Linked DNA regions of Homo sapiens: all the other regions are linked to region 1. The links are contacts of gene promoters, found by promoter capture Hi-C in blood cells and fetal thymus (Javierre and others, 2016). All regions are on one chromosome and are shown on one strand. The core of a region is centred on a gene start or on the middle of the fragment in contact, and the rest is flanking DNA. Distances in the headings are between cores, read along the strand shown.

What was found. The method cuts DNA at HindIII sites, captures the fragments that hold promoters and counts their contacts. A CHiCAGO score of 5 or more calls a contact.
Region 2: a contact is called between a fragment that was not itself captured here and the fragment with the promoter of HSPB7 in region 1, in 1 of 17 cell types (activated CD4 T cells). The highest score is 5.5, in activated CD4 T cells.
Region 3: a fragment that was not itself captured here is called in contact with the fragment with the promoter of HSPB7 in region 1 in 1 of 17 cell types (activated CD4 T cells); the score reaches 6.0 in activated CD4 T cells.
Region 4: a fragment that was not itself captured here is called in contact with the fragment with the promoter of HSPB7 in region 1 in 1 of 17 cell types (activated CD4 T cells); the score reaches 5.4 in activated CD4 T cells.

Annotation. Positions count from the first base shown.
Region 1 is chr1:16,016,784-16,019,313 of GRCh38, reverse strand. It overlaps HSPB7 (heat shock protein family B (small) member 7), which reads left to right and starts at 1,271. Exons shown (of 3, transcript NM_014424.5): 1 at 1,271-1,549; 2 at 2,107-2,240. The coding sequence starts at 1,351. RefSeq lists enhancers at 978-1,722, 1,723-2,469. The HindIII fragment of the contact is 15,911 bases long and covers 1-2,530 here.
Region 2 is chr1:15,900,465-15,902,994 of GRCh38, reverse strand. The region is part of intron 3 of SPEN (spen family transcriptional repressor); the gene reads right to left. Among named protein-coding and RNA genes, the nearest start is that of SPEN-AS1, 54 kb to the right of the region's middle. The HindIII fragment of the contact is 9,385 bases long and covers 1-2,530 here.
Region 3 is chr1:15,920,768-15,923,297 of GRCh38, reverse strand. SPEN (spen family transcriptional repressor) reads right to left here. Exons shown (of 15, transcript NM_015001.3): 9 at 2,315-2,428; 10 at 949-1,049. Among named protein-coding and RNA genes, the nearest start is that of ZBTB17, 54 kb to the left of the region's middle. The HindIII fragment of the contact is 4,084 bases long and covers 1-2,530 here.
Region 4 is chr1:15,938,412-15,940,941 of GRCh38, reverse strand. SPEN (spen family transcriptional repressor) reads right to left here. Exons shown (of 15, transcript NM_015001.3): 14 at 2,066-2,224; 15 at 486-1,646. The coding sequence ends at 1,515. Among named protein-coding and RNA genes, the nearest start is that of ZBTB17, 36 kb to the left of the region's middle. The HindIII fragment of the contact is 2,230 bases long and covers 150-2,379 here.

The DNA of each region.
Region 1 (2,530 bases), core at 22-2,521:
GTGTGGGCCCATGTGAGCAGGAGCAGTCAGAGAGGCCTCCCTGGGGGAGGAGGCATTGGAGCTGATCTGGGACGGAAGGGACGGATTTGGAGAGGACAGCAGAGGCCCTTAACTGCAACCTGGGCAGAGCAGAGGGCCTGGCCGCCTCTCAGAATGGCCTCCACCCTGGCCCAGGGCAAGGTCAGTCCCAGCTTTGCTGAGCAAGCAGGTGGGTAGGGAGGGGCTTCTCTGGCTCTTCCGGGCCAGCCTGTCTCCATAGGCACATGTTCAAACCACCTCGGCCTCTGAAGGGCTTTGGGTCCAACACATCTAGGTTCGAATCCCAGCTCTGCCACTTACGCAACTGCGAGCCCCGCCCTTTCCAAGAGGCTTCGCTTCCCCGTCCGTAACATGGGAAGAGCCCCTCCACCCTCCCAGCTGTGTGGGGATCAAACGGGGCCGTGCTGGACAGCTTGCAGCCAGGAGCCCATGCCCAGAAGGCATTCTAGAACTCAGGGCTAGAATAATTGTCTTCCGGAATTCTCTTTTACCTCTGACTGAAATCCCACCTAAGGCGCTCGCAGGCATCACCTCTGACACAGAGATGGAGCAGACAGTTGCCGGGAACACAACCTTCTAGACCTTTAAGGAGAAAGCTGCCAACTTTGTCCTCTTGGGGCTGCTGAATGTTCTGAGAGTCAGAGGGAGTGCAGGCACAGAATCCAGGTCCCCATGGGGGCTGGCAGGGGACAGCTGCACATTTTACACCCCCTGGCAGGGCTCAACCTTTCCTTAGAGATGGGCTGTGAAGGTTGTCTGCCTTGAGGGAAGGAGCTCCTGACGTCACAGAGCGGTGGTGCTTCCACCTACCCTGTCCCCAAGGAGCCTGCACACTGATGGAGGAGGTACAGCCGTGGAGGAGAACCAGAGTCTGGAGGGGAGGCACAGTCCTCAGGAGCCCCCAGGCTGACGGGGGAAACAAAACACACAATAAACCCCAAACTTGCAAGGTTCTGGGGCAGGCACCGAGGTCCGAGTGGCAAGGAGACAGGATCCAGCCCTGTGCAGTGGTGAGGAGGCCCCTGGGGCTGCTGTGATCAGCCTGGAATGTCAGGCTGTGAGCTCAGCCCTCTCGGCCTGCGTGTCGGGCTGTCAGCAGGGCCGGCGCACGGGAGAAGATTTCCAGCCCCCTCTGGGCCATGGAGAGGCCTAAATTTAGCTAGTAGACAAGGGGCTGGCCCCAAGCCCAGGGACAGTCGGCCTTATAAAGCGGCCGCAGTCGGAGCCTGGCACGCTCGCCCAGAGGCCTGCGCCCACACCCTCTCCTGTCCAGCCCTCGCCCGCCTGGGCAGGGCCCGGCGCCGTCCGTGGATGAGCCACAGAACCTCTTCCACCTTCCGAGCGGAGAGAAGTTTCCATTCCTCTTCCTCTTCCTCCTCCTCTTCCACCTCCTCCTCGGCCTCCCGTGCTCTCCCGGCCCAGGACCCGCCCATGGAGAAGGCCCTGAGCATGTTTTCCGATGACTTTGGCAGCTTCATGCGGCCCCACTCGGAGCCCCTGGCCTTCCCAGGCAAGTGATCCGGGCCCTGAGGGGAGGGGAGGTGCACAGGGAGGGGACGTCTGCTCCAGGGCGCCACCGAAGGCGCTGTGGCTGCCGGTCGGCCTGGAACAGGTGCTGCACAGCCTGCAGCCATGTGTGGCCACCAAGACAGATGTGGCCACAGGGACAGATGTGGCCATGAAAACAGGTGGGCCTCTAAGGAACAGTTGTGGCCCTGGGGGTTGGACATGGTTCCATGGCCACCCATGCTCTGTAACCACAGCCAATCCCAGCTGGAGCCCTGGAGGGCTGGATGGGTGAGCGGTGGGGGGCAGCCCCCAGGCTCCAGGCCTGGGGTGGGGTTGTTACAGACCTAGCCTCATATACACACACACTGTGCTGGGTGAGGCCCCACCCCCACCCCAGAAAAGGTGGGCTGTAGGAATGAGGAGGAGCTTAGGGAGAAACAGCTAGGGGGGAGGTAGGGCCTGGGGGAGCCGCCCCTTGCCCCAAGAGAAGGAGCCAGAACCCCCGGATCTGCATGCAAGGCCTGCTCCATGCCTCGCTCACAGCAGCCCATCCCACAGCCCGCCCCGGTGGGGCAGGCAACATCAAGACCCTAGGAGACGCCTATGAGTTTGCGGTGGACGTGAGAGACTTCTCACCTGAAGACATCATTGTCACCACCTCCAACAACCACATCGAGGTGCGGGCTGAGAAGGTGAGCCCCCCACCCCCTACTCACCGCATCCCAAATTCTGCTCCTGCCTCCAATGTCTCCTACTCCCCCTTACCATCCTGGGACCCCAGACCCTGGCCAGTGTCCCTTCCCCACCCAAACTCCCCCAGGGCTAACTGAAGGCCTTGTCCCTGCAACCCATGGCCATGGGGCCCCCTCACTGCCTCTCTTTGCACCGAGGTTCCCAGATCCTTTCTTCCAGGGCCTGAGCAGCTGAGGGAGCCTCCGAGGAATGGGAGAGGGATGGAGGGATGTGGGCAGAGGGAGCCTGA
Region 2 (2,530 bases), core at 12-2,511, 120 kb after region 1:
GGCAAATATGCATCTATACTGGTTTTTTTTTTAAAGCTGGAAGACTAAAAGACATTTAACCAAATTAAGTTGAGAAACAAAACTCTGGCATAAACCAATATTTTCAGAAAGGAGCGATTAGGGCAATTAGAAAACACTGCAACTAACATAGTTAGAGGGCCCATTTGTCATAACCAGGTATCTCCCTAACCATCAGGTAGCTAATAATTTTTCTCTCCATATAATCAATATATAATTTGGGGTCAAAAGAAAAGATTTTCAATCAGGTTTGGGTGCCCACTGGTCCTTATCTAATTTCTATTAGAATAATCATCTATTTTATTTTAACTTTTATTTATTTTATTTTTTGTAGAGACGGGGTCTTACTTTGTTGCCCAGGCTGATCTCCAATTCCTGGGCTCAAACGACCTTCCCACCTCGGCCTCCAAAAGTGCAGATTATAGGCGTGAGCCACCATTCCTGGCCCATAATCTCTTAAACAGAATGCATCACCACAGCAAGTAATAATACTTCCACATCTCATTTTTTTTATAAGTCCAAATTGTATCTTTCTAGTGCAGCAGTTATCTAAGTGTAAGAGGACCTGTGAGGACCCAAAATCCTTTTAGGAGATCTGTGAGACCTTCCCTATTTCAACTGTGTATCTGTGTGAGGCCAAATTTTCTTCATATACTTCACCCAAAAAACCTTATAATCACAGTTTGAATACAGAATTGGTTATGAGAATCTAACTATCTTACTAAACCAGACGTTTAAAAGATTTTCAGGCCGGGCACAGTGGCTCACGCCTGTAATCCCAGCACTTTGGGAGGCTGAGGCAGGAAGATCACTTGAGGTCAGGAGTTTGAGATCAGCCTGGCCAACATGGCGAAACCCTAACTCTGCTAAAAATACAAATATTAGCGGGGCGTGGTGGCACATGCCTGTAGTCCCAGCTACTTGGGAGGCTAAGGCATGAGAATCGTTTGAACCTGGGAAGTGGAGGTTGCAGCGAGCCGAAATCATGCCACTGCATTCTAGCCTGGGTGACAGAGTAAGACTGTCTCAAAAAAAAAAAAAAAAAAAACTAAATAAATAAGTAAAAAATAAAAGGTTTTCAAAAAATAAAACGTCATTCTCACTAAAATAAAAATTTTAAAGTTTAAATTTCAATACGGCAAATGTCAATAGATACTGTCCACAATAAATGAAAGCCCAATAATTTTAAAATGTAAAGTCAAGCCTAGAAAGTTTTAAAAACAGTTCAGCAGTCTGATGTGACACCATTACCATTTTCAACTCCACCACTTCTGATGTAATCTGAATTTAAGCCTCTTTTGTTGGTGTTTTTTTTTTTTTTTTTTTTGAGATGGAGTCTCACTTTGTCACCCAGGCTGGAGTGCAGTGGCGTGATCTCGGCTCACTGCAACTTCCGATCCCCAGGTTCAAATGATCCCCCCAACTCAGCCTTCTGGGTAGCTGGGACCACAGACCACACGTATGAACCACCACGCCCAGCTATTTTTTTTGTTTGCATTTTTAGTAGAGACAGGGTCTTGCCATGTTGTCTAGGGTGGTCTCGAACTTCTGAGCTCAAGCAATCTGCTGACCTCGGCCTCCTGGCTCATTACAGGCATGAGCCACCACGCCCAGCCTATTTTTTTTTTATTTTTATTTTTTATTTTTTTATTTTTTTTTACCAGACAGAGTCTCTACTCTTTCGCTCAGGCTGGAGTACAGCGGCGCAATCTTGGCTCACTGAAACCCCTGCCTCCCAGGTTCTAGCAATTCTGCTGCCTCAGCCGCCCCTACACCTTTTTTTTTTTTAAGGGACGAGGTATTACTATGTTGCCCAGGCTGGCCTCAAACTCCTGGGCTCAAACGTCCTCCCGTCTCAGTCACCCTAGAAGAAGCTGGAACTACATGCATACACCACCACACCTGACTCAAGCCTCTATTTTTTTTTTACTCCAAAAAATAACAAGGAAATAATCAACTGAGTGACCTGCCAAGACACTTCATTTTGCCTCTCTTAACTTGAATTTCCCTAGCGGTTAGCAGACCTCATGATCTTTCAAGGACCCTACTAGTTTTAGCAGGGTTCTACAACATTTTTGTTGTCACAGTGGGGGTGGGGTGGGGTAGGGTTACTGGCATCTACCAAGTACCCTACAGTGCACAGGAAAGTCCCAACAAAGAGTTCTCTGGTCTCAAATGTGAATAGTGCCAAGACTGAGAAACCCTGGCCTGTATTATTTCTTGGACTGCTTTCCCATCTTTTGAAAAACCAACATGCTAATTTCAAGCTGCAATCCAAACGCAGGATCCTTAACATTGATTATTCTTCCTCATTACTAATGTATCATTTCATAAAAATCTTTGAATTGTAAGAAAAAAATGTAAACTTCTGAAAATCAAACTTCCTCAAGAAGAAGCTGAGATCTAAAACACTCTGGTGTCACTTGATTTTGGACAACCTGATAAAAAGGTAAAGTATAAACAACTTTTTTACAATATTAACTTCACCATTCAAAACCAAGGTCACTACTTT
Region 3 (2,530 bases), core at 18-2,517, 96 kb after region 1:
TGTTTTACTATATTTCGGTCTGTTCAGCAGAAAAAATATTAAATACTACATAACCATGACTGAAAGTATTAACAAGAGGAAATCAGGTTTGCCCTGCACATTGCCAAAGTTGCCAGTTTACATATGCTTTGGCTTATTGATTCACTTTGACTATTTAAGAGATTCAACTTTAAAATAAAGCTCTTGATATTCTTTTGGAAGTTTTTATTTATTTATTTATTTTTTAAGTTAAATGTATGAGCACATACAACCTGGTTGTTGTCATTACTAAATATGTAGCCATTTAAAAGTTTATAATGCACTCTAACATATATTAATACATTTACTTTAAGAAGTAACTGTAAGCAAGATGATTTGTATTTATGATTAATGGTACATAAAGCAGACCAGGTGTGGTGGCTCACACCTGTAATCCCAGCGCTTTGGGAGGCCAAAGCGGGCAGAATGCTTGAGCCCAGGAGTTCAAGACCAGCCTAGACAACATGGAGAAAACCCATCTTTACAAAAATTACTCCAGCGTGGTGGCAAGTGTCTGTAGTCCCAGCTAATCAAGAAGATGATGTGTGAGGATCACTTGAGCCTATAAGGCAGAGACTGCAGTGAGCCATGATCATGCCACTGCACTCCAGTCTGGGTGACAGAGTGAGACCCTGTCTCAAAAAAAAAAGTACATAAAGTTATCACCTGGCAAAACAGTAACTCTTTCAAGTTCTAGGAGCATTCAGTGAGAAATCCAGACAGGTTGCTCCAAACCCATAGGAATTACCTGGAAACTAGATTCAAAAAAATAAACCTGTGTTTCCATATGAAGTGATAAAAGAGAAGCATTCTCTATTCTAGAAGATGAAAGTAGGGGTAAAGAGTGAAAAATAAAATTTAATGCCATCTTAAGTTTCTGTATTAAAACTATTAAAACTCAAGCTACACTGGTAAGTTTAAAATACATACCTTCTTTCGGCTAACATTTCATAAAAGTCTCTGATGTCTTGACCAGATTTCTCCATGCAGTGATAAAAAGCCAGCTGACTTTCCCGATTTGCAAAATCCACCTTTAAAAAAAAAAAGAGGTGTTTGATGCAAGTTTCAAATTTTAATGATGGAAAAATGTTATCAGATTTGTAAATTCTTCACAACATAGCCCTTCTGAGAAAATTTCAGGAAACAGCAATGTATCTCAAGTAAAACAGTCCTCATCACTGAAACTATATTAACCTGAAATCTCTCAAATTCTGTATAAACCGTGATAAAAGAATGAAATTTATAAAGTTTCAAACCCAATTGTGAAGGAGTGAAAAAAGCAAAATGGAAAACTGAAATGGCAATTAAGTAATCAGATCAACTAAATCCAGCAATCTCTGTTGCCAAAACTACAGTTAGAATATAAAACAAAATATGGATGAACATTTTAAACTTTATTCACAGCTGGGCCTCAAAGTTACTAAAGCATATGATGCTCATCAGCTATCAAATAGCTTATCATCTTATTTTTAAAATACTTTTTTCAACCTAACAATCATAGTTATTTCATAGTTAAGTGCATAAATTCCTTCAAACTACCATGAATACAAGTTTTTAAAAACATACACTGGACATAAAGTTATGCTTTAAGTGGCTACCCACTCTTCAGGAGAGTAGGAAAGGAAAGAAAGACATATCATTCAGGATGCTGGACTGATACTATGAGGCCCTGGGTGTCAGATACCCATAACTGTGGTCAAGCCTGCGATGAGAGTGTCTGTGTGAGCATCAGCACCCGAACACTGAGAAGCACACTTCTTTGAATGAGAAGATTTTTAGGGAAGGATCTGTGGCTAATGGTTTAAAGATGCTGTGCCCACAAGTAGCTGAGCATAAAATTGTAATATTCCCCTTAAACACTAATGATACAGCATACGTGTCTTGTAAACCACTCCCCTGGCTGGCAGCCTACAAAATGCTAGTTATTAACGGGGTGATTTCTTTTTTTTGGAGATGGAGTCTTACTCTGTCACCCAGGCTGGAGTGCAACGGCATGATCTCAGCACACTGCAACCTCCGCCTCCTGGGTTCAAGCAATTCTCCTGCCTCAGCCTCCCAAGTAGCTGGGATTAACAGGCACGCGCCACCAAGCCCGGCTAATTTTTCTTGTATTTTTAGTAGAGACGTGGTTTCACCATGTTCATCAGGCTGGTCTCGAACTCCTGACCTCAGGTGATCCACCTGCCTTGGCCTCCCAAAGTGCTGGGATTACAGGCGTGAGCCACCACGCCCAGCCCAAGAGGGTGAGATTTGAATAGGACTTTGTTTTGCTTCTGTTTAAAGTCATTCTGCACACCTTAATTTTATTCCCACCGATTTTCCTCCCTTTGGTCTCTTTTACAGCTGCTTGTGCATATTCAATTTCATTGTAGAGAACCAGGGCCATGCCTTTTAAGCGGTCAAACACCACCTGTAAAACAAACAAACAAAAAACAAGTAAGAGCCTCATCCACTGGACTTAGTGTCAGTCCCAACAAAATCCTAAGCCACAAGGACACGGATGAGAAAAAAT
Region 4 (2,530 bases), core at 15-2,514, 78 kb after region 1:
TCCCCAACTCCCATTCTCCTGTCTGGAGGCAGAGACGGGATCAAATGAGCCCCCAGGGGCCCCAGGAGGCCACTGCCTCTGCAGGAGTCAGCCTGCTTCACACTGGGAGAAGGGAAGAGGGGGCAAGAGAGAGACAAGAAACCAAAGCTTGCTAAAATGTTTCTGAGATGGCATGGGGTGTGGTTATATTCTGTATCAAAATTGGAAGTGCCTTCCTTCCACATTACCTAAGAACCAGTTAGGACTCTGAAGACACCACAAGAGTGAGAAATGGTTAAGTTCAGTGTCCGTGACAAAAATCTCCTTTGTACAAGATAAAATTATCCTTGGGGAGGAGGACTGACTGACTAGGAGGCAGAAGGGAAACAGTTCCCATGTACAGACTTGGCATGGGGATCAAAAGCGGGATGAGGGCTGACTGTTCCCATAAGCCAAGGACCCATGGTTCGTCCTCCCACCCAAGTGACAATCACACTCACACTTGGTGTGTTTTATATTTTTTAATAAAGTTTGTAATCCAATGGACACACAAAACAAAACTGCGCTGAGAAAAACAGTTTCATAAATTAATAAGTGTTAGGAAGTTGGGGGAAGAGATCAAGGTAATAGGAAGAGGGGTTAGCCAGTCTTTTTGTACAGGTGCCGTGTGACACTTCCACATCGCGGGAGCAGGACCCGTGCTGTACCGAAGCGCACTTATACAAATGAGTGGGCAATACAAAGTCTGAATATGAAAATAAGATTTCCTCTGAAAACACATTTTTGGCACAGATTAAAAAAAACGTATGTCGGGGGATTTGATTTTTTAAGTCAGTATTATATATATTTATATATATTATATATTTATATATACACACATCCCAAGTTCTGCATATCCCACCAAGAGAAAACCTTTCTGTTTGCTCTTCAACTGTAAACTGTACATCCCGGTGAATCAAAGACGGTGGCAGCAGGAGAATTAAGGTGACGCATCCAAATGAGCAAGGGAGATGGGGGTGGACAAAAAAAACCAATGAAATGTTCCTTGACCCCAAGGTCTCAGCAGAAGTTTGAAGTCCTTCCTGCGTTAAGAGTCTGCAATGTGTGTCTACACACACCAAGACATCCAGAGTGTCACAGCCTGTCTTCACTGGGCAAAAGTCCAAGTCACTAATTTAGTGCAAAGGCAGTTCTGTTTTCTTGTTTCTTAAAAACAAACAAACAAAAAATTTTCATTCCACTGCCCTGTTCCTTTTCTCCAAAAAGAGGAAAGAGAAACCCAGCCCCGGTGTCTGCGAGTCCATGGGTTGGTGATGTGTCCTTGGGCTAAAGCATTATGTAAACATACAAGGTAGCAGCACCACTCCTAGAGGAAGTCTGGCCGACTGAGCCGGGCGGCAGGACAGCAAACGGCTGGCCGTCTGGCAGTGGAGTCTGTCCCCTTCGGCAGCTTCTTCCTCTGCTTGGCTGGGTTGTCCTTTGTTTTTACTGCAGAGCCCTGGGAAGATTCACTGAGGTGATAACCACTCAGTGGCTCACACGGAGGCAATGACAATCATGAGGTGGGGAGAGATGTTGGAGATGCTGGCAAGGAGGTCAGGGGCCAGGCGGGACAGGTGACTCTCAGAGAACTCACAGGGCGGGAAGATCTGCAGCACGTAGGCAGGCTGGAGACAGGATAGAGAGCAAAGTGGGACCGTCTGTCTTCACCCCCACAACTCCACTTCCATTGGGGAGCCCTGAAGAGGCCCAATGCTAAGAGCCAGGCCAAATCAGTCCCCAACCAGCAAATGTGCCAGGACTATGTCTACTGGAAGACCTAGCAGGTGTCAGAAAACTATAAACAGGAACCCCCTGGGGCCCTATCTTTAAACTCATGGAAAACCTGTGTTCTCAGCGGTTCCCTGGGTTCTCTTCAGGATGGGTGATGGCGCCCCGCCCCATGTGCTCTACTGACTTCTGTCCAAAATGCCCCTTTGCCCACCTCTGGGGCCAGATCTAGTGGGCACCAGATGAGTAGGCCCACCTACCCTGATCAGCCCCACCTGTGGGTGTACATGTGAAGGAAGGACACAGGACAACCGACCTGATTGGAGCCAGGGTTGGGAACGTTGATGATCCCTGCCGCCTGCTTGGCCTGCAGGTAAGTGATGAAGGCAGCCTTGAGGGACTCGGTCTGGCTCACAACATCCTCTTGGTCACGGCCACAGGGCAGAGCCAGCAGCAGACAGTAATCTGTCTCCACCTGAGGCAGAGGCCAGCTGCCAGTGAGCAGGGGCCTCCTAGTCAAACAGCAGCCCACATCCAACCCACAGTATCAGGTCCACAAAAACCCCCACCTCTGAGATGACTTTAAAGGCTACCCTGATATTTGAATGAAAAAAAAAAAAAAAAAAAGCTTTTTTTCAACCTGAGAAAGCTGATTTAAAAAATAATAATTTTTAAAAACTGTAAAGCCTTGTTTCTGGGTCTAGAGGTACTTTACATCCCCCCACCAAGTAGAAGCATAGTGGACCCTTCATTGCTCACTTCAAGAATACCGTTACTGGCC